Linked DNA regions of Homo sapiens: regions 1, 2, 3, 5, 6 and 7 are each linked to region 4. Evidence: promoter capture Hi-C in 16 types of primary human blood cells and fetal thymus (Javierre and others, 2016). All regions are on one chromosome and are shown on one strand. The core of a region is centred on a gene start or on the middle of the fragment in contact, and the rest is flanking DNA. Distances in the headings are between cores, read along the strand shown.

Region 1 (4,095 bases), core at 462-2,961, 420 kb after region 4:
TGCCTCAGCCTCCCGAGTAGCTGGGATTACAGGCATGCGCCACCAAGCCCGGCTAATTTTGTATTTTTAGTAGAGACGGGGTTTCTCCACGTTGGTCAGGCTGGTCTCGAACTCCCGACCTCAGGTCATCCGCCCGGCTTGGCCTCCCAAAGAGCTGGGATTACTGGCGTGAGCCACTGCGCCTGGCCTTCTTCTTCTTCTTCTTTTTTTTTTTTGAGACTGATTCTGATTCTCACTCTGTCACCCAGGTTTGAGTGCAGTGGAGCAATCTCAGCTCACTGCAGCCTCCACCTTCTGGGCTCAAGCACTCCTTTTGCTTCAGCCTCCCAAGTAGCTAGGATTACAGGCACATGCCACCACGCTGGGCTGATTTTTGTATTTTTGGTAGAGACGGGATTTCCCCATGTTGGCCAGGCTGGTCTCCAACTCCTGGCCTCACGTGATCCGCCCGCCTCAGCCTCCCAAAGTGCTAGGATTACAGGCGTCAGCCACCACGCCTGGCCCTTATGAATTTTCTATAAGGCTAAAATCACTTTAAGATTAAAAATTACAAGACGAAAGTAATACAATTCTGATATATTCTATAACATGGCCGAAGGTTGAAGACACTATGCTAAGTGAAATAAGCCAGACACAGAAGGACAAATATTGTGATTCTACTTTTATGAAAAACCTAGAATAGTCAAATTCATGGAGGTTAAGACGGAAAGCCTCCATGTTAGAATGAACTAGAATACAGAAGAGAAGTTACTAGGGACTGTGGGGAGGAGAGAACGATGACTTAGTGTTTAATGGGTAAAGAGGTTATTTTTTATTTTAGAGACAGGGTCTTGCTCCATCACCCAGTCTGGAGTGCTCTGGTTTAATAATAGCTCAATGTAACCTTGAAGAATTTAAGTTTTGCCAGATGAAAAGAGTTCTGAAAATGGATAGTCATGATGGTTGCACAGCCAAGTGAATATACTTAATGCCACTGAACTGTATATTTAAAATTGGTCAAAATGGTATATTTTACGTTGTGTAGTATATTGTACCACATATACAAAAAAAGTAAATGAGGGTTCACAGTCCCAGGTTTATACTTTAACTACAATATCAGCATGTCTTCCCCAGAACTGATTACAAAATGCAGTTTCATTCTATAAAAACATTTAAGGAACAGCCTCCTTCCCTACCAGAGATCTTGTACCATCTTGCCAGTCGAAGTGAGAAACAGCCCATTTAAATAATAGCTATGGGCCAGGTGCGCTGGCTCATGCCTATAATCTCAGCACTTTGGGAGGCTGAGGCAGGTGGAGCACTTGAAGTCAGAAGTTTGAGACCACCCTGGCCAACATGGTGAAACCACATCTCTACTAAAAATACAAAAATTAGCTGGGCCTTGGGCCGGGTGCGGTGGCTTATGCCTGTAATCTCAGCACACTGGGAGGCTGAGATGGGTGGATCACCTGAGGTCAGGAGTTCGAGACCAGCCTGACCAACACGTAGAAACCCCGTCTCTACTAAAAATACAAAATTACCCGGGCGTGGTGGTGCATGCCTGTAATCCCAGCTACTTGGGAGGCTGAGGCAGGAGAATCGCTTAAACCCAGGAGACAGAGGTTGCGGTGAGGCAAGATCATGCCATTGCACTCCAGCCTGGGCAACAAGAGCTAAACTGCATCTCAAAAAATAAAAATAAAAAAATAAAAAAAATTAGCCAGGCGTGGTGGCATGCGCCTGTAATCCCAGCTACTCGGGAGGCTGAGGCAGGAGAATCGCTTGAACCCAAGAAGCGCAGGCTGCAGTGAGCTGAGATTGCACCACTGCACTCCAGTCTGGGCGACAGAGTGAGACTGTCTCAGAAAACGAAAATAAATAAGTAAATATAGTTATGAGCAGGCTCAGGAGGTAAACACTACAGTAATTAGACAACATCGAAGACTTCATGATAACACTTCCCAAGCATGTTTGGTGACCCGTGACCCTCAGGAACCAAGCATTTTGCAAGTTCTTCCCTTTCACACCCTTTGACCTCTGCAATGTGAACAGGAAAAATAAAGCCAAGTAAAATAGCTGACTTATACAGTCTTCATTCTGGCATGGACCTGGCCTGAAGTGGGTTCACTTCTCATTAAGGTTACTCATTGCTTTTTTACAGTATAAGCAATGGTAAAGTGTCTTTCATGCTTTAAGTGTCTGTAGTAATTTGTATGTAAGTGTCAAATACCAAGGCACAGTCAATCTTGTCTTATTTTTAAAAACTTAAAGTACCAAGTGAAAAACTCATTTCCATTTTCAAAGGCACAATTAAATTTCAGGCTTTTAATCTTTTAAAACCCTATATATATTTTTTTTTTTGAGATGGAGTCTTGCTCTCTTGCCCAGGCTGGAGTGCAGTGGTGTGATCTCGGCTCACTGCAACCTCCGCCTCCCAGGTTCAAGCGATTCTCCTTCCTGCCTCAGCCTCCCAAGTAGCTGGGACTGCAGGCGCATGCTGCCACGTCCGGCTAATTTTTTGTATTTTAGTAGAGATGGGGTTTCACCGGTGTTGCCCAGGCTGGTCTCGAACTCCTGAGCTCAGGCAATCCGCCTGCCTCGGCCTCCCAAAGTGCTAGGATTACAGGTGTGAGCCACCGCTCCCGGCCTTAAAACCCTATTAACCAGACTCTGTCTCTAATTGATTCTGGAGAAAATTGCAAACTTCATCTTCCTCAACTGTTGCCACATAGTCATCATTTCTTATAGAATAAGGCACTGATCCCATCTCAATCTAGTAACTTGACCTCAGTGTATCTTTTGAGGTTTCCCTTTTGCTATTCCTTCTGTAGCTGTCAAGTTAGACTCCCAAACTTTAGAATAAATCCCCAATAATTGCTCGGCCACAGAATGTACGCATTTTCAAAACTTTGCATATGCATTGATGAGTTGCTCTCTCACTAGCTGTGAACAAAAGGTCTCCTTTTCCCCAAACTAGTTGGTAAGGGTTTGTGATAAAGGAGGACTAAATATATATGTATATATATTTAGGGACAAGGTCTCACTCTGTCACCCAGGCTGGAGTGCAGTGGCATGATCATAGTTCATAACAGTCTCGAACTCCTGGGCTCAAACGATCTTCCTGTCTCTCTGCCACCTGAGTTTCTGGGATTACAGGCGTGAGCCAGTGCACCTGGCCTTCCTTCGATTTTTGAAATTCCCAAGCTACTCATTTTTTCTCTTCCTCTGAACGCCTGAGCACGTTCCTCTTTTATTCTTTGTTTACTTATTTTCACACCAGCAAGGTTAATACTTCACACATAGTGAGCCCTCAGGAATATTTGTCAATATTTGTCAAGTGAGAATATCACTATTTCAGCAACTTTTTTTATTAACTTAAAAAATAATGCCTATTGCTTTTTATGATGATAAAAGTAAGACAGTACCAGCTAATTGCAGAAAACTTGCAAAAGGCTAAAAACAGTGAAGAGCCATAATCCCACAACTTGGGCATAAGCATTATTTACATTTTGGCTGACAAATAGTCAAACTTTATCCAGCAGATGAAGCTGAATCCCAGAAGAGAGGCACAAAATTTTAATTTGTGTTTTGCTTTGTTTCTGTGAACATTCAAATAATGTCTGGAGTGGATGTAGGTTAGAATGTAAATCTATAGGCCCCAGATTAAATAAAAGAAGCCCTGAATGTAGCCGGGCATGGTGGCTCATGCCTGTAATTCCAGCACTTTGGGAGGCTGAGGCAGGTGGATCACCTGAGGTCAGGAGTTCGAGACCAGCCTGGCCAACGTGGTGAAAGCCCGTCTCTACTAAAAATACAAAAATTAGCCGGTTGTGGTGTCGCACTCCTGTAGTCCCAGCTACCCAGGAGGCTGAGGCAGGAGAATCTCTTGAACCCGGGAAGTGGAGGTTCCAGTGAGCCAAGATGGTGCCACTGCACTCCAGCCTGGGAGATAGAGGGAGACTCAAAAAAAGAGGGCTGGGTTTGGTGGCTCACACCTGTAATTCCAGCACTCTGGGAGGCCGAGGTGGGTGGATCATTCCAGGTCAGGAGTTCAAGACCAGCCTGGCCAACATGGTGAAACTCCATCTCTACTAAAAATACAAAAATTAGCCAGGC
Region 2 (4,206 bases), core at 1,402-3,901, 390 kb after region 4:
TACATCCAGTCATAATGGGCAGTTTGACATTTCTGGAAGAGCCATCTGCAATAAAACAATAGTATTGTAAATATTTGCAAGACAATAATTAAACTCAGCACTGAGGTGAACTCCACACTGATTTTAGTTATTGTTTTTCTTCAGATTCTACAAAGAGTGAAGTACTCCAAAGAAATCTTTACATTCTAAAAAGATCTAGTTTTTATCATGATGCATTGTTTTAATACTCTAAAACTACTTGTCTGTGAGACTATGCTTTTTAGGAATGAATGTGATTCTGTTACTTCTAATGTGATGACAGTAACTCCTGGGTACATTTTAATCTTTGCAATATTTTAACTCAAAATAAAAACCATCCACTAGTGTGAAATATTTCAATGACATGATTCCAATACAGATTCAAGATGAAAACATCAGGTTTCCTTCAAAAGGAATTTTACTCTCCTTTTAGGAAATTGTGTAGGTATTTATATGAGTTAATTTTGAGAATTTTTAGCTAATCATACATTTATTCATCAGTAAGTGATTGAAATCGAGTCCTTTTAGACAAGGAAACCCAATTAAGATGGTGTGGTGGTTGAACTGGGTCCCCTCAAAAAACATATGTTGAAATCCTAATCTCCAGAACCTCAGAATGTGACCTTATTTGGAAATAGGATCATTGAAGATCTAATTAGTTAACATGAGATCATACTGGAATGGGGAGGCCTCCTAATCCACTATGATTGGTACAGGATGATAACCATGTGAAGACAGACACACACAGGAAGAATGTCATGTGACCATGTGACCACAGAGGTAGTGATTAGAGTTATGCAGCTACAAGCCAAGCACTGCTTGTGACACCAGAAACTAAGAGAAAGGCATGCACAGATTCTCCCTAGAGCTTTTGAGAGAGCATGGCCCTACCAACGCATTAATTTCAGACTTCCAGCCTCCAGAAGTATGAGATGATAAATTCCTGTGTTCTGAAGCCACCCAGCTGTGATATTTTGCTATCACAACCCTGGGGAATAAAAACAGATGGGAACAGATGTACCCACCTGTCTTTGTGTCTATGACATAGTACAAAGGGCATAGGCTTTGGGGTCCAGCAGAAATGGAAATTAACCCCAACCCAGTCAATTCTTTCCTATGTGACTTTACACAGGGTAATTAGGGTAGCCGATTTCCTCAGCAACATGATAGAAATAAGATCTTCATAAGATACAGGCATGGTGGTGCATGCCTGTAATCCCAGCTATTCAGGAGGCTGAGGCAGGAGGATAATTTGAGCCCATGAGTTAGAGACCAACCTGAGCAACATAGCAAGACTCCATCTCAAAAAAAAAAAAAAAAAAAAAAAAGATTGTTGAAGGCATCAATTGGTGATTGGTGAATATATGAAAGTTATGGGACACATAGTTTCTCAAAAAATACTAATTTACAACCTGTATATATGAGCTCATTTAAGTAGTCCGTTAATATTATTTTATGTGGTCAAGGAAATTAAAAGCTTTTTTTTCTTTTCAATAATTAAAAAAAAAATAGTATCTATAAATCTGAACTTCTAGTGACCTGGATGTTCAGTAACATTTTTGTCAGTAATGATAAAAAAATGAATTATTCATAGTTAATGGGAAATAGACAACCATTTTATTTATGTGCTCTACAGTTCTGTTCAGTCAAAGAAACTCTAGTCCCCTGGTTTAAAGAACACTCTGGAAAGGAAGTGTCCCACACAAGAGATGTGGTGGATGAAAACTCCCTATAAAAAGTTTATCCCTTTAATTATATGCTAAAAATATATATTTTTAGAAATAGTAAAATGATAGTCTTTCCAAGAGTACTGTAATGTGAATTATCCAACCTAATGACTCAGTTTAAAAGTCTGAATTATGTATTAGTCTCACTAGAAAGGGATAAAATTTGTCATTCAGTATGGGGGAATGACATATTATTTATGTGATCATCCTTCTGAGATCCCATTAAAATAATAGTAAAGAAATTAGGCTGGGCATGGTGGCTCATGCCTGTAATCCCAGCACTTTGGGAGGCCTAGGCGGGTGGATCACGAGGTCAGGAGATCGAGACCATCCTGGCTAACACGGTGAAACCCTGTCTCTACTAAAAATACAAAATAAAATTAGCTGGGCGTGGTGGTGGGTGCCTGTAGTCCCAGCTACTCGGGAGGCTGAGGCAGGAGAATGGCATGAACCCAGGAGGCGGAGCTTGCAATGAGCCAAGATCGCACCACTGCACTCCAGCCTGGGCAACAGAGCGAGATTCCGTCTCAAAAAAAAAAAAAGAAAAAAGAAATTAAAAGAGGCAGAATCTAAGGGCAAAGGTCAATTAAGAGAAAAGAAAGATCTAATGATGATCACCGATCATCATCAGTGATCTAAATCTTTCAATAAACTTCTAGAAGACAGAGCAGGAAGTGATAACTAGAGAAACACAGTGGAGGTAAAGGAACTCAAAATATGCCACTCAGGCTGGGCACAGTGGCTCACACCTGTAATCCCAGCACTTTGGGAGGCAGAGGCAGGTGGATCACCTGAGGTTGGGAGTTCAAGACCAGCCTGACCAACATGGACAAAACCCCGTCTCTACTAAAAATACAAAATTAGCTGGGCATGGTGGCGCATGCCTGTAATCCCAGCTACTCTGGAGGCTGAGGCAGGAGAATCGCTTGAACCCGGGAGGCAGAGGTTGCAGTGAGCTGAGATCACACCACTGCACTCCAGCCTGGGCGACAGAGTGAGACTCCATCTCAAAAAATATAAATAAATAAATAAATATGCCACTCTGGCAAATAGACTATTTTGAGTTAAGGGTCTTGAAAAAAACAGCAAGAACAAGATCACTCTGACCTTCCTACTGCTTATTAAAAGCAGATGATTAAATTCCTGTGTGACAAATGTTCTCCCTGTACCGGAAGGAAAATATCACTCTTATCATCATCAAGGACAAGAAGTTGAGGCCAAGGAAAATCTGTACCAACAAACCATGTTAGACTAATCCTTATCCTCCCAGCCACTTCTCTGTCCAATGAACCACCCTAGCTCAAGCTCCTTTGCCTTGTCACATTTTCACAATTTACTTTGCGTTGTCTACTTCAGTATCTCTGTGTTTATCTCTAACTGCCTCCTTGAGTCTCCATTCCTTTTTGAAGGCTCCCATGCCATGTAAAACTTGCATTAAATAAATGTGCATGCTTTTCTTCCACTGCTATAGCTTATGTCAATTTAAGTATCAGGCTCAGCCAAAAAACCCTAAAAGGGTAGAGATAAAAATTTTGCTTCCTCTATAAAGGGAATTTCAGCCAGAAGGATGCATGGAGAGACCATATCTGTGAAGGAAGCCAATCTGCCTGCAGGACCCAATGTGCACGGGCTCAGAAAATTCACTTCCCGCATTATCTTTTCTTTGCAAATTAATTGGCAATGTGCCTCAACAATACAAAAGAGTAAAGCAAGGAAAAGACACGAGGATCCAGGAAACAGTGGTTTCAAATGAGGTAAGTAATTAAGGGAAGTCCCTGGGTGATAGCTGTGTAGCAGATCAAGGCAGCAAGCAACAAAGGCCTTAGGAGGAAGTTATCTTGAGGAAAAAAGAGAGTTGAGTATTTTTCAAAATCTTACACTAACTTTGAGATTTTGTAATAATAGAAAGATACCAACAATACACAAATAAAAAGAAAGATAGGAGAACAAGTAGAAAGCCACCTTATTAGGATAATTTGACTGCAAGCAGCAGGAAAACCAAACCCAAAACGCTTAAAAATAAGACATTTACTATCTGACATAACAAGAGCTTCATAGGCAGGGAAGCTTCAGTTGACTGGTTAATTCAGTATCTGATTCTTCAAGTGCATAGGTTCTTTACATTTCTCTTTTGTTTTTTCTTTTTCTTTTTCTTTTGACAGTCCAGAGATCTTTTATCTTTTTAACACCTATGATGCCATGAATTCATGGGGAATAGGTTCCAGCAGCTCAGGCTGCTTCCCATTGGTTCTCACACAGTGTGCTTCTCTGGGTGGAGCAGGCTGGGGCTTCAGTTGAACCCAGGTGCCTTTCTCTTTGGCTTCTTTATTTTTCTGACCATTTTCCTTCACGCGTCTCAGGAAGCTATCTCAGCTCTTAGAGTGCTTAATATGCTCAATACGCACATTAATTCTTTTGGCAAGAATCTTGCCCTTGTTTGTTTATGCAATGCCAACAGCAT
Region 3 (3,937 bases), core at 1,371-3,870, 380 kb before region 4:
CTGTGGTAGGCAAAGATATGCTAGGGAATTCCAGGGATGGATCTCTAGGGTTCTAGAGTAAACTTATGACAGAAAACTTATGCCATGGCTGGGGTAGAGCCATGTGTATGAACACATGGGAGTGGGCACAAAGTGTGAAGAATTTTGTATCACATGTTAACACCCACCAGAAAACATCTACAATGGAAGAGGCACTGACAAAAGCACTCAGCAGTTGACATGGATAGAACTGGTGTGACAGGCACGTGGGTGGAATGGCCATGCTACCAGAGATGGAAGCCATGTGTAGGCCCTGTAGCAAGAACTTCCACGCACAAAAACTGATCTAGTTACTGCTACTTGTAAATGTCCATATTCCCCAGCAGTAGGGACCAACACTGAGCCCCAGATACAGCACTGTCCTTTGAGGAAACCAACTGGCTATTTGGTGGCAGGTTGACTCATGAGGCCTCTTCCACTCTTGAAGGACCAGCACTTCATCCTCACAAGGATGGATTACTATTCTGAGTAAGGGTTTGCCTTTTCTGCCTGTAGAGCCCCAACCCTCACCATTACCTGGGGTTCATGGAATGCCTGGTCCACAAACATGGAATTCCATACACATAGCATTTGATTAGTGAAGGAAATACAGGAGTGAACCTATGACCATGGGATCCACTGGTCACATCATGTACTTGCCTTCTAGAATGTTGGAACAGACATCCAAAGGTGCAACTGAAATGCCATCTTCCAGGAAACTCTCTGAAGGAATCATTCCATAGGCTGCAACACGTGTATTAAATCAGAGACTCTTTATGGAGCTGTGTCCCCAGTAGGAAGGATATGTGGGAATGGGAACTGAGGAGTAGAACCAAAGTGGCTCCATTAGCATCACTCTGAATGACCCACTGGGGAATTTGTGCTTCCCATCCCCAAACATTGCCTTTTTTTGGCCAGGCGTGGTGGCTCACACCTGTAATCCCAGCACTTTGGGGGGCCGAGGTGGGAGAATCGTTTGAGCCCAGGAGTTCAAGACCAACCTGGGCAACATAGTGATATCCTGTCTCTACAAAAAATTTAAAAAAAATTATCACACCTGTAATCCCAGCACTTTGGGAGGCCAAGGCAGGTGGATCACAAGGTCAGGAGATCAAGACCATCCTGGCCAACATGGTGAAACCCCGTCTCTACTAACATTACAAAAATTAGCTGGGCATGGTGACGTGCACCTGTAGTCCCAGCTATTCGGGAGGCTGAGGCAGGAGAATCGCTTGAATCCGGGAGGCAGAGGTTGCAGTGAGCCGAGATCGTGCCTCTGCACTCCAGCCTGGCGACAGAGCAAGACTCCGTCTCAAAATTAATTAATTAATTAATTAAATTTAAATAAAATAAATAAGTAAAAATTAGCCAGGTATGACAGTACATGCCTGAGGTCTCATCTACTCCAGAGGATGAGGTAGGAGGATCGCTCGAGCCCAGGAGATTGAGGCTTTGAGGCTGCAGTGAGCCATGATCACACCACTGCACTCCGGCCTGGGTGACAGAGCGAGACCCTGTCTCAAAAAAAAAAAAAATTGTTTTAACTTAACACTTCTGTCTTTCTGTTCTCTATCTTACTAAATGTTTGCTTTTTTCTTTACTAACCCACTCCTTCTGCTTTGCTTCCATTTATTTTGTTGTTTTTCCCCCTAAATTTTGATTACATTCTTAATTCTTTTAAAAAAATAAGTATTTAAACCTATGAATTTTCCTCTGGTTTCTACTTTAGTAGCATATCACATTTTTTATGTGCTGTGTATTCATTTTCTACAGTTTCAGTTAGTGGTTTCTCTCTGCTGTAAGAACTGTTTAAAATAGTTTTGAATTTCCACATAGAAGGAATTCCCACCCCACACAACCCCCAAACTTTATGAATTCCTAGTTGTATTGCATTGTAATCACAGAATGCTGTCTTCACTATTCTGCTTGGACCTTGCTGAGGTTTTTCTTTATGGCCTAATAGTTTTAGTGAGTGTTCGTGGGCAATGGAAAGGAAAGCATATTCAGATTTCAGGATGTATACATTGGCATGTTATCAACCAGATCTATCTTATCAATTACTAAGTTCTTCTGTGATTTATTTATTTTTTATCTACTTGATCACTGACAGTCTGAGAAACAGAAAGGTTAAATATATCTACCCAGTTCTTCTAGCAAATGGCAAACTTCTCTAGTAAATGGCAAAATCCAAATTCAGGCAATCTGACTTCAGTTCTTAACTACTATACCATGCTGGCTTTCATCGGTATTTGTTAGATTTTTCTTCATATGTTGTCACTTGGGGTCAAACCATTCAGGAGAAAGGCAGATCTCCCAGGGAAACAACTTGAAATCAATAAAAAGGATTGTGAGGACATAGGAGTTAGCAAGATACTCAGGAAGTCAGTGATATGGTTTGGCTGTGTCCGCACTCAAGTCTCAACTTGAATTTTCTCTCCCAGAATTCCCACGTGTTGTGGAAGGGACCCAGGGGGAGGTTAATTGAATCATGGGGGCAGGTCTTTCCCGTGCTATTCTCCTGATAGTTAATAAGTCTCACAAGATCTGATGGGTTTATCAGGGGTTTCTGCTTTTGCTTCTTCCTCGTTTTCTCTTGCCACCACCATGTAAGAAGTGCCTTTCACCTCCCACCATGATCCTGAGGCCTCCCCAGCCATGTGGAACTGTAAGTCCAATTAAACCTCTTTTTCTTCCCAGTCTCGGATATGTCTTTATCAGCAGCATGAAAATGGACTAATACAGTAAATTGGTACCAATAGAGTGGGGCAGTGCTGAAAAGATACCCCAAAATGTGGAAGCAACTTTGGAACTGGGTAACAGACAGAAGTTGGAACCATTTGGAGGGCTCAGAAGAAGACAGAAAAATGTGGGAAAGTTTGGAACCTCCTAGAGACTTGTTGAATAGCTTTGATAAAAATGCCGATAGCGATATGGACAATAAGGTCCAGGCTGAGGTGGTCTCAGGTGGAGATGAGGAACTTGTTGGGAACTGGAGTGAAGGTGACTCTTGTTATGTTCTAGCAAAGAGACTGGCAGCATTTTGCCCCTGCCCTAGAGATTTGTGGAACTTTGAACTTAAGAAAGATGATTTATGATATCTGGCAGAAGAAATTTCTAAGCAGCAAAGCATTCAAGAGGTGACTTGAGTTCTGTTAAAGGCATTAAGTTTTATAAGGGAAGCAGAGCATAAAAGTTTGGAAAATTTGCAGCCTGACTATGCAATAGAAAAGAAAAACCCATTTTCTGGGGAAAAATGCAAGCCGGCTGCAGAAATTTGCGTAAGTAGTAAGGAGCCTAATGTTAATCCCTAAGACCATGGGGAAAATGTCTCCAGGCCATGTCAGAGAACTTCACGGCAGCCTCCCCCATCGTAGGCCCAGAGGCCCAAGAGGAAAAAGTGGTTTCGTGGGCTGGGTCCAGGGCCCACCTGCAGTGTGCAGTCTAGGGACTTGGTGCCCTGTTCCCAGCCACTCCAGCCATGGCTGAAAGGGGCCAACGTACAGCTTGGGCTGTGGCTTCAGAGGGTGGAAGTCCCACACCTTGGCAGCTTCTGCGTGGTGTTGAGCCTGCAGGTACACAGAAGTCAGGAATTGAGGTTTGGGAATCTCTGCCTAGATTATAGAAGATGTATGGAAACACCTGGATACCCAGGCATAGCATAGCCATAGCAAAGGCAGAAGTTTGCTACAGGGGTGGGGCCCTCATGGAGAACCTCTGCTAGGGCAATGCAGAAGGGAAATGTGGTGTCGGAGCCCCCACACAGAGTCCCTACTGAGGAACTGCCTAGTGGAGCTGTGAGAAGAGGGCCACCATCCTCCAGACCCCAGAATGGTAGATCCACCGACAGCTTGCACCATGCACCTGGAAAAGCTGCAGACACTCAACACTAGCCCATGAAAGCAGGTGGGAGGGAGGCTGT
Region 4 (4,257 bases), core at 1,436-3,935:
TGGGTCTCATTGAGAAGTATAAAAACTTACCAAGCAGTGAAGGGTATTGGAGAGAGAAAAACAGGATTTTAAAATGAAGATTCCAAACCACTGCCTACCAATCTGGCACGGCAAGTCGGGCAAATACACACTCAACGACAGTCACTGGGGTCGGAGTAAAAAGAAATGGATTTAAATTAAAGATGGAAAGACTTAAATCAGACTTAAAGAAAAGCCTCTTGATGTAAATTGCTAAGCACCTACGGGAGATAACCAAATCTACCTGTTACCACTAATCTATCAACTAACAAGACAAAGCCTCCAGCTAGGCGTTACTGTGCTGATATATATTAGGAAATAAGTACCCAAGGCATAGAAAAATCGCTGACACAGAGAACCAAGCCATAATGTAATATTAATAAAAGTAAACATTTGACCCTTTACCACCTCTAACACGTGGCACCACCAGGAATATTCATCCATGCCTCACCATTCAGGGAAGGTAAGTGAGCTCACTCAGGAAGTGCCACCGTCTTCCAGGTCACTGGTAAGGACAAACTGCCTGCTGCGTCTACCTTCATTCAACAGACCTCGACCGAATCGCATCCCAAAGCCGGCTATGTGCTTGGAACTTACTGAGCAGCTATGGAGTTTGGCTTTCAGGAACTCTGGGTCCAGTCCTTAAAACCAAAAGTGCAATACAGGGCGATGAGAACTTCTATTGCTACATTCTCCTAGCAATAAAGAAGACAAAGCCCCAGCTGACTCTATTATTTGCTTCTTAACAGTGCTTTACTATAGTATTAAAGGGTTTTCAAACACTTCATTTCCAGCTTCTCTTAAGCATAATGCGTGCCTATTGACTCTCGACTGTGCCATCAAACGTTAAAACAGAACCTGTCGTTTCATTTCTAGCTTTCTATGGCTACCTCTATCAAAAGTTGGGCATGGAGATACCTTAAGTCTGGCTGGGGCGGTTGCTCACGCCTGTAATCCCAGCTCTTTGGGAGGCCGAGGGGGGCGGATCACCTGAGGTCGGCAGTTCGAGACCAGCCTGGCCAACATGGTGAAACCCCCGGTCTCTAATAAAAATACAAAAATTAGCTGAGTGTGGTGGCTCATGCCTGTAATCCCAGCTACTCGGGAGGCTGGGGCACAAGAATCGCTTTAACAGAGGAGGCAGAGATTGCAGTGATCGGAGATCGCGCAACTACACTCCAGCCTGGGCGACAGAGTGAGACTCTGTCTCGAAATAAAAGAGATACTTCAGTCTGACATACCACAATCAACTACAATGTAATTGGAGGGAAGAGCCGATGTTGGACGGCTATCACACGTGGCTTCACACTGTTCTTTTTCTTCTCTGGCTGGGTACGGCCTGAGGATGACTGCCCTCCAACAACTGAGGATGCTGCAGGAGGACCAGCCCAGCACCTGTCTCCATCCCCTGCACTGTGTGGCCGGCTCTGCCGCTTCTCCCCCGCTTCAGCATCACCTGCCACTTCTTCTCAATCTGAAGCCACTAAGAACGATCAACACCAGACCGTTAAAACATAAACCAGTATGGGCCACTAAATAATTCGTAAATATTTCAAAATGTATTTCAAAACCGACTTTGTATTGTCAAAACATTATAATCTAGCCAGGCCAAGTTTTAATAAACAGTAACACCCATCATCACTACTGGGTAAAGAACTTCATTCAACAGGACCTACCTTGACACCAAGTCTAGAGCCTCGTTTTCAATTAAAAAAAAAATGGGTAAGCCCCAAATGTGCATTAAAAATTAGTTTGGCCATTTACTAAGTAGTCCTTCAAAGCATTTCCAAGTATTCAGAGTTCCAGTACTTTTCGGAAAGGAAGGGTGATCTTTCTGGTACTGGTTTGCATAATTATGCCTAAAAAATGTCATCTTGAATTTTCAATGAAAAGAGTCTTAAAATGTTCAGGCGAGTGGAGAAAATGGTGATCCGCTGGCGTTAGAAGTGGACAGAGAGGCTCTCAGTACAAACTGTATCTGAACGTGTTCCTCACAAATTAAGATCTGCACCGGGGGCTGGGGGGCTTTGAGAAAACTAACCACATTTGAATCCGGTCCACACAGCTTGAAGGCGGAGGTACGGGGCAAAGCGCGGCGGGGAAGAAACACCAGCAACTCGGCGGCCCCCGCCTCGCCGCAGATCACGTGCCCGGCGCCCCCTCCCGCAGGGCCGGGGGCGGGATGGAGACGCGGCCTCCCGCGCGCCTTCCGCACTCCCCTCCGCGCCCCAAACCCAGGGGTAGGGGTGGTCTCGGGTAACCATCCCCAGGGCGGCGGCGAGGGAACTGCGCGGGTTCAGAGTCCTCAGCAGCCACCACTGACGCCCCGACGCCCCCGGCTCCCCGCGCACCCCGCCGGTCCGTCCTGCGGCGGCGGCGGTAGGGGCCGCGTCTACGTGGCGCGGTCGCGGCGAGGCGGGGACTGGGACGCGAGGACCGGGAAGCGGGGACCGCGGCGCGAGGAGGGGCGGCTCAACCCGCGCCGCCCCGGAGGGTCCCGGCCTCCGGCAGGACAGCCCCGGGCCCGCGCCAAGGGAAGCCCCCAGGCGCAGACACTCACCGCCAGCCCCGGAGGGACGCCTGCGAGGAGCCCGGCCCGCGCCCACTTACCCACAGGGGCTCCGCTCCCGGCCAGCGGGCGGCTGAGGGCAGGCGGCGGCTGGACTGCGACGGCTAGGACCCGCCGGGGAGGGAAGCCGAGGGGGCGGGGCCGGTCGGGGGCGCGCGCGGGGTCGGAGCGCCCGCAGCCGCCGCTGCCTTGGAAGCCGCCTGGGCCGCAGCTGAGTCGGGCGGCCCTCATGAATGGGACGCCGCGGCTGCGGCGGCCGAGCCGGCAGCTGGCGGGCGGGCAGCGCGCAGGCCCCGCCCCAGCCACGTGACGCGCGCTCCCGGCCGCGCGCCGCGCCCCCGCCGCCGAGCGCCAGGCGTGCGGCTTCTCACCGCTCCCAGTCCCTGGGCTGCGCGCCCGGGCCCCTGGCCAAGTGAGGGCGGGGCCTCGATTTTCTAGTGCCTCGGGCGACAGGAGCCTTACTTTGTTTTAAAAAAAAAAAGTTTCTTCCGGTCCCCATGGCAACCCTGCGGCAGGTCACGTGGGACTGAGAGCCCAATTGCCAAAAAGGAATGTTAAAGTGCAAAAAAAGTCTAGGGAATGAATGTTTTATAATCCCCTTTTGATCACTAGTAGCACATCTCCTTTGCTTACTTACATCTCCACCGAAAAAAAAAAAATCCTATTACACAACTCATTTTTAAAAATATGCCGGGGTTCTGTTGTTTTTTGTTTATTCTTTTTATCGCTCTGTTACCCCGGCTGGTCTCCAACTCCTGGGCTCAAGCATCCCCGCACCTCGGCCTCCCAAAGTACTGGAATTACAGGCATGAGCCACCGTCCCCAGCATTAAAATATACTTTTTAAGAAATGGGTGGCTCACGCCTGTAATCCTAGCACTTTGGAAGGCCGAGGCAGGCGGATCACTTGAGGTCAGGAGTTCAAGACCAGCCTGGCCAACATGGTGAAACCCCCGTCTCTACTAAAAATACAAAAAACCAGCCGGGCGTGGTGGCGCGTGCCTGTAATCCCAGCTTCTCAGGAGGCTGAGGCAGGAGAATCAGTTGAACCCGGGAGGCGGAGATTGCAGTGAGCCGAGATGGCGCTATTGCACTCCAGCCTGGCGACAGAGAGACTCCGTCTCAGAAAGAAAAGAAATGGGGCCCGGCGCGGTGGCTCACGCCGGTAATCCCAGCACTTTGGGAGGCCAAGGCGGGTCGATCGCCTGAGGTCAGGAGTTGGAGACTAGCCTGGCCAACGTGGCAAAACCCCGCCTCTACTAAAAATACAAAAATTAGCCGGGCATGTTGGCTGCAATCCCAGCTACTTAGGAGGCAGAGGCGGTAGAATCACTTGAACCCGGGGGGCGGAGGTTGCAGTGAGCAGAGATTGCGCCACTTCACTCCAGCCTGGGAGCGAAACTCTGTCTCAAAAAAAAAAAAAACAAAAAAAACTGGATTGCTGGTGCTATATACTATTGGTGCACACTGGTTTTTAATTTGCAGCCTATTCTATTACTATTCTATGATTGAAAGTAATGAACAGAAGCCTATGTTACTTCTATATAAATGGCAGTTAATTTATGAGGTGCATCTTGTGTGTGATCATTTATACAGTTCTAAGGGTACTGAAATAGGCATTTGCATACACAAAGCTGCTCCTTGAAGGATCCAGCTGCAGCCCAGTTTCTT
Region 5 (4,059 bases), core at 1,108-3,607, 400 kb before region 4:
ATGAATCCTATGCAAGCTTTTTGAAAAGGTCACATTTGGTAAATACTTCCAACTCACCAAAAAACTAAAAAACTTCACTACTGAATTCTAGTCAGTTGACCTTGGCGCCCTAAAAACTGAACCAATTTTATTTAGTTTCTGCATCTTTGAGAATAAAGTGACTTTTTAATTTTTTAAAGGAAAAAGTATTTTTTGTTCATAATATAAATACTCATTAGAAACAATAGAGACTCGAGAGAAATGTATAAAATGGGAACTGAAATGTACCTTATAATCCACCATAATCCCATCACTAGAAACAATGGTTAAAGTTTAGGGAGTGTCTTCCAGATATACAAACATATATTTTTTTAATGGTACCAAATTATACATAGTTTTTCATAATCTGTCTTTCTCAAGAAAAGATATCATGGATATCTTTTCATACAAATGTAGAGAGAGCAATCCTTCTATTGTGTTTTTATTTTACATATATACATAGTATATATATATATATATATATATATATATATATAACTTATTTAGCTAGCCCCTTATTAATTTTTTCCCTAAATTTTCAACTGACCAATAATGTTGCTGTGAATATCTTTGTATATCTTTATGTATTTTTCCATTCCTTCCCTTTGATAAATTTCTGAAGCATCGAATTAAAGTTTATATATATTTTAAAGCTTATATATATTTTAAATTTTAATAAATATTTTCAAATTAAAAAATAATAAAATCACCTTTTTTTTTTGAGACAGTGTCTCGCTCTGTCGCTCAGGCTGGAATGCAATGGCACAGTCTCAGCTCACTGCAACCTCCACCTCCTGGGTTCAAGCGATTCTCATGTCTCAGCCTCATGAGTAACTGGGATTACAGGTGCATGCCACCATGCCCAACTAATTTTTGTATTTTTAGTAGAGATGGGGTTTCACCTCGCTGGCCAGGCTGGTCTCAAACCCTTGACTTCAAGTGATCCACCCACCTCAACCTCCCAAAGTGCTGGGATGACGGGCATGAGCCACCATGCCCAGCCGCATTTGTTTTTATAATACAGGATTCCCAAAGGAGCACTTTAAAGTCTCTTGCATGTAAAACAGTAAGCATCTTGAGAATACAAATGATGCAACCTGATTTTATTTAAGTGCTTTTTATAATTGTTTTAAATCCACCTAGAGTATACAGAATGTGAATATCAAGAAACCCATAACCGTGACTTTATCCTGATAGGAAGCAGAGGAAGAGGATGAAAAATGTGCCAGTGAGCTTGAGTCCTTGGAGAAACACAAGCACCTGCTAGAAAGTACTGTTAACCAGGGGCTCAGTGAAGCTATGAATGAATTAGATGCTGTTCAGCGGGAGTAAGTTTATCTCACCAAGATTTATACGTTTATTTTCAGATTATTAATTTAACAGTTCCATAAAATTAGATCTATTTTTATTTGCTTTAATTTATAGTATACAGCTATTTAGGATGGAAAGAATGGTATATAGAACTTAAGTACAACTGCTTATAACTCGAGAACTTTCCCTATCAACAGATACATTCTGTTAGTATTAGAGTTACTGTCCACCAAGAAATCATTAATCGTTAGATCTAGTTAATACATGGCTTTTAATCCCTGAAAACAACATAAAAAATTTTAAATCAATTCAAATAAATTTGGCTGTTAGTGAATTTTAATAAAATTCCACTAAGCTTTAATAAATTCCACTGAGCTCATGTTTTTATTTCCTAGAAATTATGTATATTATATAGTAAAATGTAATTATACTATAAATTATAGTCAGTCTACTATAACACAGCATATGCCTTCCAAATAGTTACCATGCTGTGCAAAATCATGCCATAAAAATCACAGGACCTACGGGAAAACTGATATTGAGGCACAGCACTAAAATTTCATCAGTAGTTAGGCTCAGTGGCACACACCTGTAGTCCCAGCTACTCATGAGGCCGAGACAGGAGAATCACTTGAGAAGTTCAAGAAGTTCAAGGCCATCCTGGGCACTATAGCAAGACTCCATCTCTAAAAAAATTAAAAACTCCATCAGTAACACATATAAACAAAAGATAAGAATCAAACAAAAATGTTAGCACAATGATACACATACTTAATGGCTAAGAAATACATAATGCTACAATAAATATGGGACCCTTCATAATAAAAAGACCTCTAGTTTGATTTGAGAAATGGGCATTCAGAAGGCTGCAGACTGAATTACTGTAAAGAGGTAGAAAGTGGGTTATCTGAAGTGGGATGGAAATTGCACCATCAGTACTGGATGCATGTGGCTCATTACATATGCAGTGCACTGAGTAGCTGCTGTACATTTGATGTGTGTGCTTAGATGTGTGTATTCTTTTGCATCTGGATTCAGCTGGGTGCGGTTTTCTGCATTCACCAGGTATTTCTCAGGAAAGAAACTGGCATAAGCAAACATGAAATTTGCCAGATTGCGCTCATATTTCCAAACAAACACAACAGAACTGCCTATATATTTTGTTGTATTTCTTAGAAGTACTTTATAATCAAATTATACGTTGTCAGGATCTCGTCCTTCTCAGTTTCCCTCACAATTTTTAAAACTTACATAGGAAAAATTTTAGCCACACTATATAATAACTACAACTACAAACAGTGGCATCCTTTCTTTAAATAATTTTCTGTCTCTGTGTATATAATGCTCTTGAGCAACTTATATAAAATCAATATACTGAACAGTTAATCCATAGGCTCCGTGTACATTTATGTAAAATATACATTTTTTAAGTCTTAAGTTGCCCTCAAATAACTGAAAAATTTTCTATTTTGAGATTGCAAGTACAAGCCTTGTGAAAGTCATTTCTCTTCACTTCTTTATTTGTAGGCCAAGGGGAGAAAACTCAGTTGAGGTTTATTTGGCCTGCAATTTTATTGGTTTTAATTTGAATTTGAATTCCTATAAGTAAGACTTCTACTCCCCCATTTGCAAATTTTTGTCTTGCCCAGAAAGCATTTGAGTTTACAATCCCTTTGGAGACTCAGTTACAACCCTTCGCTCCAAAGCTTTATATGTTAAAACATGGTGCTCTTTTGTTTTGTTGCTTGCAAAGGATCTTTGAAAATGTTTATATTTCTCTTTTAATTATTGATAGTGGGACCTCTACAAATTATACATATAGTATGCAGCACATAAATCAATCACAGTTTGGTTTTTTTGAATGTGGAAATGGGAAGTGAGCTAACTAGAACGGATGTATTAATTTTTTTCCTGGACAACTTAAACAAGAGTTTTTGTTCTACAGATACCAACTAGTTGTGCAAACCACGACTGAAGAAAGACGAAAAGTGGGAAATAACTTGCAACGTCTGTTAGAGATGGTTGCTACACATGTTGGGTCTGTAGAGGTAAGTATGTGATGGTCTTTCCTACGTTCTAAGAAAGGTTTTTAAAACTTTGATACATTTCTGCTTTCTTCCATATAAATTAAATGATGAATTTTATTTCTATTTAAAGTATGATCTGGCAAAAATTTATCAGAAGAATCTTGTCTAGTGATGTGGCAACGTGATGCAGGGGAACACTTGAGCATTTTTTTTTTTTTTTTTTTTGAGACGGAGTTTCACTCTCATCACCCAGGCTGGAGTCCAATGGCATGGTCTCAACTCACTGCAACCTCCACCTCCCAGGTTCAAATGATTCTCCTGTCTCAGCCTCCCAAGTACCTGGGATTACAGGAGCCTGCCACCACGCCCAGCTAATTTTTGTATTTTTAGTAGAGACAGGGTTTCATCTTGTTGGCCAGGCTGGTCTCAAACTCCTGACCTCAGGTGATTCACCTGCCTCGGCCTCCCAAAGTGCTGGGATTACAGGCGTGAGCCACCGCACCCAGCCCACTTGTGCATTTTATAAAGTAATCTATTGTATTTGCATAAACAACATATGATGTTATGTATTACACCAACAATGTATAATGATGCTATGCCAGGCCATGTTCTACATACTGAAAACATATTAGTACATTTGAAAACTTATCGTACATTTAGGATTTCATTAAGCTTAAGATGAAAGGGCATATCTTATGATGAT
Region 6 (3,732 bases), core at 539-3,038, 450 kb before region 4:
CGATAAAATCCAGCAATTCCACTTCTGGGTATATATCCAAAAGAACTAAAAGCAAGAACTGGAATAGATATTTGTACACCTGTCTTCAGAGAAGCATTATTCACAACAGCCAAAAGGTAGAAACTACGCAAAAGTCCATAAACAAATGGATAAACAAAATGTAATATTTACATAAAATGGAATATTTTTCAGCCTTAAAAAGGAAAGAAATTCTGATATATGCTACATGGATGAACCTTGAAGACATAGTGAAATAAGCCAGATGCAAAAGGGCAAGTATTATGTGATTTAACTTACATGAGGTATAGGCAAATTCACAGAGACAGAAAGTAGAATACTAGTTACCAGGCAGCAGGGGAAGGGGGAGTGGGGAGTTACTATTTAATGTGTAGTTTCAGTTTGGATGTGGTAATGATGGCATGACACTCTGAATGTACTTAGTGCCACTAAATTGTACATCTAAAAATGGTTAAAACAGTAAATTTTATGATACGTATATTTTACCTATTTAAAAAAACCACAAATTACTAATAAAAGCAATGAAAAAGTTATCATCACCACAGATCCTACAGACATTAAAAGAAAGCATAAGATAACATGACTTCATGCTAACAAATTTGACAACTAGGATGAAATGAACACATTTCTGTTTTTTGTTTTTTATTTTTTCGAGAGGGAGTCTCTCTGTCACCCAGGCTAGAATGGAGTGGCATGATCTCGGCTTACCGCAACCTCCACCTCCCAGGTTCCAACAATTCTCCTCCCTCAGCGTCCCAAGTAGCTGGGGTTATAGGTGCCCACAACCACACCTGGCTAATTTTTTTATATTTTTAGTAGAAATGGGATTTCACCATGTTGGCCAGACTGGTCTCCAATTCCTAACATCAAGTGATCTGCCCACCTCGGCCTCCCCATAGTGCTGTGATTACAGGCATGAACCACCATGTCCAGCCTGAAATGAACACATTTCTTAGAAAATAAAACTTGTGAAAACTGACATCAATAGAAACAAAAAACCTGAAAATCCGGTTCTCTATTAAAAAACCTGATTTTGTTACTAAAAACCTTCCCCCATGACAATTAAAACACAACACATCGGAACGTACATGATGTTGCTAAAGCTGTGCCCAGAGAAAAAGTCTCATCATTAAATTCTTCTATCAATAAATAAAGAAAAAAGAAAAGAGGAAAAAAGTAAAGTTGCCAAAAAAGTATCCACCACAAAAAGCAACACACTGAGATGGTTACAAAGTGGGGGTTCTATCAAACTTTATCAAACTTTTAAAGAACAAATTATCCCAATTATTTTTCTATTGCTCCAGAAAATTGGAAAGTAAAAAGAAGGAAAACTTCTAGCTTCCAACACGAGAGGGCTAATAAGTTCTCCAGCGTGCAAACATCCTACATATTTACATATATAATTATATATAAGGCCGAAGAAGTAAATATATCAGACCAATCTCTCTTATGACTGTCCCAAATAAAACATTAGCAAATAAAATCCAGTAGAGGCCGGGCGCAGTGGCTCACGCCTATAATTCCAGCACTTTGGGAGGCCGAGGCGGGCAGATCATGAGGTCAGGAGATTGAGATCATCCTGGCTAACACAGTGAAACCCCGTGTCTACTAAAAAAATACAAAAAATTAGCTGGGCGTAGTGGCGGGCGCCTGTAATCCCAGCTACTCGGGAGGCTGAGGCAAGAGAATGGCATGAACCCAGGAGGCAGAGTTTGCAGTGAGCGGAGATGGGCCACTGCACTCCAGCCTGGGCGACAGAGCGAGACTCTGTCTCAAAAAAGAAAATCCAGTAGAACATTTTAAAAATAGTAACATCATGATCATTTGGAATATATTCTGCAAATGCAAGGATGGTTAATTGAGGAAGAATCATAGGAAAAATCTATTCAGTCTCCTTCAATAGGATCAATAGGTTCATGGAAAAAAATTTTTAAAAAAGAAAAAAAAAATCTGTTCAATCTCCATATATGCCTAACATGTTATTTCCAACTCAGTTGAAACCCAGTATTATGCTTAATGATGAAATTATCCCCCTTGTCAAGCACAAGACAAAGTAAATATGCTCACATATATTACTTATGTTTATTATGCACACAAATATTCTTTAATATTGTATTATAATTTCCACCCTACAGAATTAGAGAAGAAATCAGAAACATGATAATTGGAAAGGTATAAGTAAAATTACTACTATTTGAAAGAGTTCTATATCTGGAAAATCCAAGAGATACAACAACAAAAAATTACTACAACTTAACAAGAAACCTGCAAGGCCTTTATAAAGAAAATTTTACACAACGACAAAACAAAACGTGAGCAAATGGAAAAATACATTCATGTTTTGGGGCGGAATCACCAACATCTTAAAGATGTCAACACTGCCCTAATTTAATTTAGAAATTTAACTTGATGCCATAAAAATGGCAACAGGTTTTCTAACTAGATGTTATCATTGATCCTAAAATTTATATGGGGAAAGAAAACAAATTTATTAAAAAGAGGAGTGATGAGAAAAGGATGGGGATGGGCAGGACTGGCACTACCGGATAGTCAAACCTCTAAATCTGATTCAGCAAATATTCTGTCCTACTACTTTTTAAGAGTTTGATTCCATTCTGCAGCACATTTCATAATTTGTATTTATGATTAATACAAGTATTTAGCAATTAGAATATACATGAATTCAAGAAATTCTATTCTCTAATTTCATGTAAACTTTAAAGTGAAAGTAAATCTTATTAATTTTTTTATAGATATAAATACCCTGGATTTTCCTGGTATTTCTGCAGTTAACCTTGCAAGTGTCATTTCCAGAAAATAAGTGTATTTCCAAAATTAACAGATAAACTGCTCACATTGAGGGATTTAACATTTGTGTATTCAGCTGTCTTCAGAACATTTAAAACCCAATGTGTTTACGAAAACCACAATAAGATACCACTTTATATCCGTCAAAATGGCTATGATTAAAAAAAAGGGGGGCAGGGGCTGCATACAGTGGCTCTTGTCTGTATTCCCAGCACTTTGGGAGGCCAAGGCAGGAGGACTGCTTGAGCCCAGGAGTTCAAGACCAGCCTGGGCAACATAGTTAAGACCTTATCTCTACAAAAAAATAAAAAATTAGCTGAGCGTGGTGGCACATGCCTGTAGTCCCATCTACTCAGGAGGCTGAGGCAAGAGGATCACTTGAGCCCAAGAGTTCAAAGCCACGGTGAGCCATGACTGCACCACTGCACTCCAGCCTGGGCAACACGGTGAGACCCTGTCTCAAAAGAAAAAATGAAAGTTAAACATAAAAGCTAATCCAACAATTCCACTTCTGGGTATATACCTAAAAAAAGCAGGGACTCAAAACAGATACTTGTACACCAATGTTCACAGAAACATTATTCATAATAGCCAAAATGTGGAAACAACCCAAATGACCATGAACAAATAAATGAATAAACAAAATGTAGTATATACAAACAATGAAATATTATTCGCCCTTAAAAAGGAAATTCTGATAAATGCTACAACATGGATGAACCTTGAAGACATTATGCTAAATGAAATTAGCCAGATACAAAAAGATGAACATTGTATGATTCCACTTATATGAAATATCTACCATAGGCAAATTCACAGAGACAGTGAGTAGAATAAAGGATACCAGCAGCTGGGGGACGGGGGGATGGGGAGTTATTAAATAATGGTAGAGTTCCAGTTTGGGAT
Region 7 (4,167 bases), core at 225-2,724, 430 kb before region 4:
GGGGATTGGAATTAAATCATAACATGTTATATGTTATAGACGTAATGTTTCTTTTCCTCCTTTATGTCGTGGAATGAAGATATCAGTATTGGCAACATTATTTTAATGTAATTCTTTGTCAACACAAAACATAATAGGTTAAGTCTTAAGATATTGCACGTGGATAGGTTGTTTATTTTGTTTTGACCTTTTTCATTAGACATATTGCCCCTTAGCCCAGAGTCGCCACTTCCAAAAGTGGTTGAGATAAAGGAAACATTAAGATTATACATTAATACTTCCTAGCATACATAAAAAACTAGTCATCACATGGGCCACTTAGAAGAAAAACTATTCTCTGTTCTAATTCTAACCTTCATTCTTTGAAACTTTTGTCACAAAAGAAAAGTGGAAATAATTTCAGTCCCATCTTTTATGACTGCCTGGGATGTAGTTCAAAGATACATCAACTGACTAGTGTTGGCATCATTGCCTTTTTCTTTTTAACAAAAAATAAACATGCGCCTTTACTACTTCAACAATGATCCCAGTTGGAAAGGCTCCTAGAAAACCTTTGATCCCACCCTTGAGAAAATTATCCTCCCACATTGCAATATGTATATTGGGCTGCCTCTAATTACCCCTCAGTTTTCACCCAAGTACATTACAACATCTATTAAGTATTAAATGTCTTGCCAGACACAGTGGCTCACACCTGTAATTCTAGCACTTTGGGAGGCCGAGGTGGGCAGATTGCTTGAGCTCCAGAGTTCAAGACCAGCCTAAGCAACATGGCGAAACCCCATCTCTGCAAAAAGTACAAAAATTAGCTGGGTGTGGTGGTGCGTGCCTGTGGTCCCAGCTACTTGGGAGGCTGAGGCTGCAGGATCACTTGAGCCCAGGAGGTCAAGGCTACAGTGGGCCAAGATCATGTCACTGTACTGCAGCCTGAGTGACAAAGTGAGACCCTGTCTCAAAAAAAAAAGTGTTAAATGTCTTGACATCCATCCTAAAGGTTAAAAAATTATTCTTGCTCTCTGAGCTATTATAGCTATTATTTCAAATGACAATATATAGAGAAGCACATGGGAAACTATAAAGTACTCTTTGTAATTAAAGAAAGTTGTCAGAGTATCTGGCTTCACAAGTTTCCGATACTCAGCTTTGTGAGTCCACAAACTCGATATTTTTAAACCTATAAGATCAAAATTGACCAAGCTTAAGGAAACTGATTCAGTCTTAACCAAATTCACAGCAACTGATCTGAAGGAGAATGAAAATGTATTAATTTACCATCAGTGATACACCTTTCCAGTTACAGGAATACTCAGACTGCCTATTCAGGGTACTCACTTCAAGGTCACCTTAATAAGCAATGAATTAGCACAAAGGGAATTGGTTTGTCTTGAGGGATATTTACTTCATCTAAGGTATGGAAAATTCTGATCATCCATTCTTGCCTTCTCATAAAGTCTACATTCTCAGTGACCAAAACATCTCATGAATGCAAAATATAGTGTTATTTTCTCTTGGATAAATGTTAAGAATTCTAGTATTGTACTGTTTAGATTGCTACTCATCATGCAATTCATTTTTTAGCCTGAAGTTACAATGTAATTGTAGCCTTCATTAATTACATTTGGGTTTTTACAATTAGACCTTATCAATTCAATTGGACTTAGATGATCAGCAGTTTATTTAAATTTTTCATCAGGTGCTTTATTCCTAAAGATGATTAAGTTTGTGCATTTTATGTTGAATTACATTTATTAATAAGCTTCCCTGTTTGTTTGACCTTCTCAAAATTCTGAAGGTATGGCTGTTTTTAAATATTGCCTTTATCCAAATTTAAGTGTTATTTTATCCTCATTATTCATATTTAGAAGTAGCAGACTAAATAAGTCCATATAGCATAATTATATAGCCTAGGTTTTTGTCTCTTATTTATAGGTTCATCTGACTACTTAGTATTTCTGACTATTTTTTAAATTCAAATATAAATTTCCACCTAGAAAAGTGAAACAGACCAAATAGAGAATCATAACTTTGTTTCTAAAATCTGCTTAACCCCATAGTTGTTTTTGGACTACACCATAAAATGCTATGAGAGTTTTATGAGTGGTGCCGACAGCTTTGATGAGATGAATGCAGAGCTGCAGTCAAAACTGAGTAAGTGTTCTCGTTCTTAGGGTGCTTGCTTTTGGTCATTTCACTCTGCTCATGGAGTGGTAATTTATTTACCATATCCAGTGTTCATATGAGCTACTTACTTTAAATGTATCTGGATGCCTACTGATTTTTATCTTTGTGGTTTCTTTGGTGGAGAGAAGTTAAACAAAAAGAATACTAGTGTTGGAGCCAGACCTGAGCCATAACATCTTACTGTCTGTGGCGCCTTAATAAAATACTTGACCTCCTGACAAAGTGTAGCAGCAGTAGATGACAGTATAATAAAGTCATAATATACCAAACATGCTACCAGAAGCATAGACAATAATTAGCAAATGCTATTCCTCTTGGGGGATAATATCCCTACGTTGTCCTTGCTTACTATTTGAGAAATTAAAGCACCAATTAGTCAAAAGACCTAAGGTCTCTTTCAAAATTTGTGGCAAAAAGTTAACAAGACATTATACTTCCAAATATGTAAGGAAAATCTTTTTTTTTTTTTACTCATTTACAACCTAGTGACATACAGTATTTACTAGATAACTCTAAAACATTCCAGAGGTATTATTTTACATTTTCATTCTTTCTATTGAAATAGTCTTGTATATAAAATGCCAAAATGGAAGGTAAAATAGATAAATGGAGGTGAAGCTATTCCTCCAACAATGGAATCAATCACTTTGCCAGTATTATCACAAAAGCTGAAAGCATTCCCTTATAGTCCCCTGGGATTGTATCTTCCTGAAGAGTAACCAGGACAATTTCAGCTTGTTCACATGGGAAAGGGAGCAAAATAAATGGCTTTGTTTTAAGAGAGGAAAATTTAGAGTGATCTAAGCATCTAATGAGTAATTTGATATTTCTGTATATAATTAACCAAGCATAAAAACTGCATTCATTTATTCAAATAAATATTTTTTGTATACCTACTATGTGCCAGCCACCATTTAGGCACTGAGGATACAGTAATGAATAGGATAAAAACCTCTGCCCTTATGAGCTTACATTTTAGTAGACAGAAAGAGGAAAATAATGAAATGAGCAACTTTAAGTCAAATGGTGATAAGCGCTTTGGAGAAAAATCAAGCAGGACAAGGAGAGTCGAAGTACGGTGGAGTAATGGAAAGGGTTTGCTGTTTTACAAGGATGGGATGTACTTCACTAATAGTGTTTTGGGCAGAGACCAGAAGGAAGTGAGGGAGGGAGTAATGGTGAAAACTTGGGAAAGAATGTTCTAGGCGGATTTGAGGTCTTAAAAAGCTTTTGGATTTTGTCTCCAGAGGATTTATTTAATGTGGATGCTTTTAAGCTGGAATCATTAGAAGCAAAAAACAGAGCATTGAATGAACAGATTGCAAGATTGGAACAAGAAAGAGAAAAAGAACCGGTTAGTAAACATGTTTACACACTTACTTGAGAGCTCTTTTAGACTTTTGGGTGTCCTTGGATATTAGCTGTCTTTATCAAAATTTTAAAAAATAGATTAACAAATTAAGCTTCTTAAAAGTTAAATTTTCACCTAGAAACTCCCAATGAAAACATGTTTGGTATCTGTGGAGCCTTGTTTTCCCTTGCGGTCTATCAGTCTTAGACTAATGGTGCTCTGGATATGATGAAAGATTCTTACCTACTTACATAAGATCAAAAGTACTTTTGAACAAAGGCCCTGTGTTATATACCTCTAGGGAGCATTAGTCACAAGAAGCCCTGAGTTTTGGAGGTAGTGCAAAAGGAATGGTTAATAAATGGGTTTATATAGTATATTGTATCCTGAGTTTTCTAAAAGCTAAATATTAATATCCAGTTATCTAACTTTATTTTCTGCATTATTAGTGAAGCACTCAAACTGTTGTTGTAAAATACCAGATTTTAAATATTTGTGCTTTTTCAACCCTAGCAATTGTGGTTTTTTTTTTTTTCTATTTCAAACTGACAGTGTAGTCCCCTTTTAGTTCTTTTGACTTCCTCTAAAAATGAAAGGAAAACTCAAATCTACCTTTCTCTAAAATAAATTTAAAT

What was found. Contacts are between HindIII fragments. The CHiCAGO score rates a contact against its expected background, and 5 or more counts as called.
Region 1: a fragment that was not itself captured here is called in contact with the fragment with the promoter of LPIN2 in region 4 in 1 of 17 cell types (naive CD8 T cells); the score reaches 6.4 in naive CD8 T cells.
Region 2: a fragment that was not itself captured here is called in contact with the fragment with the promoter of LPIN2 in region 4 in 1 of 17 cell types (non-activated CD4 T cells); the score reaches 6.7 in non-activated CD4 T cells.
Region 3: a fragment that was not itself captured here is called in contact with the fragment with the promoter of LPIN2 in region 4 in 3 of 17 cell types (non-activated CD4 T cells, monocytes and naive CD4 T cells); the score reaches 6.5 in non-activated CD4 T cells.
Region 5: a fragment that was not itself captured here is called in contact with the fragment with the promoter of LPIN2 in region 4 in 2 of 17 cell types (non-activated CD4 T cells and neutrophils); the score reaches 7.6 in non-activated CD4 T cells.
Region 6: a contact is called between a fragment that was not itself captured here and the fragment with the promoter of LPIN2 in region 4, in 2 of 17 cell types (neutrophils and non-activated CD4 T cells). The highest score is 8.6, in neutrophils.
Region 7: a fragment that was not itself captured here is called in contact with the fragment with the promoter of LPIN2 in region 4 in 3 of 17 cell types (naive CD4 T cells, non-activated CD4 T cells and total CD8 T cells); the score reaches 8.3 in naive CD4 T cells.

The regions. Positions count from the first base shown.
Region 1 is chr18:3,432,871-3,436,965 of GRCh38, forward strand. It overlaps a transcript of TGIF1 not described here. Among named protein-coding and RNA genes, the nearest start is that of TGIF1, 15 kb to the right of the region's middle. RefSeq lists an enhancer at 904-1,404 and a silencer at 1,839-2,049. The HindIII fragment of the contact is 5,991 bases long and covers 1-4,095 here.
Region 2 is chr18:3,402,405-3,406,610 of GRCh38, forward strand. It overlaps the pseudogene RPL21P127. Among named protein-coding and RNA genes, the nearest start is that of TGIF1, 46 kb to the right of the region's middle. The HindIII fragment of the contact is 2,317 bases long and covers 1,494-3,810 here.
Region 3 is chr18:2,629,616-2,633,552 of GRCh38, forward strand. No RefSeq gene overlaps it. Among named protein-coding and RNA genes, the nearest start is that of SMCHD1, 24 kb to the right of the region's middle. The HindIII fragment of the contact is 9,719 bases long and covers 1-3,937 here.
Region 4 is chr18:3,010,459-3,014,715 of GRCh38, forward strand. It overlaps LPIN2 (lipin 2), which reads right to left and starts at 2,686. Exons shown (of 20, transcript NM_001375808.2): 1 at 2,629-2,686. RefSeq lists a silencer at 2,127-3,076. The HindIII fragment of the contact is 8,581 bases long and covers 1-4,257 here.
Region 5 is chr18:2,607,485-2,611,543 of GRCh38, forward strand. It overlaps NDC80 (NDC80 kinetochore complex component), which reads left to right. Exons shown (of 17, transcript NM_006101.3): 15 at 1,216-1,346; 16 at 3,275-3,377. Among named protein-coding and RNA genes, the nearest start is that of NDC80, 38 kb to the left of the region's middle. The HindIII fragment of the contact is 1,351 bases long and covers 1,683-3,033 here.
Region 6 is chr18:2,559,086-2,562,817 of GRCh38, forward strand. All of the region lies in intron 3 of METTL4 (methyltransferase 4, N6-adenosine), which reads right to left. Among named protein-coding and RNA genes, the nearest start is that of METTL4, 11 kb to the right of the region's middle. The HindIII fragment of the contact is 4,359 bases long and covers 1-3,732 here.
Region 7 is chr18:2,585,776-2,589,942 of GRCh38, forward strand. It overlaps NDC80 (NDC80 kinetochore complex component), which reads left to right. Exons shown (of 17, transcript NM_006101.3): 8 at 2,055-2,148; 9 at 3,429-3,535. Among named protein-coding and RNA genes, the nearest start is that of NDC80, 16 kb to the left of the region's middle. RefSeq lists an enhancer at 3,359-4,167. The HindIII fragment of the contact is 559 bases long and covers 1,196-1,754 here.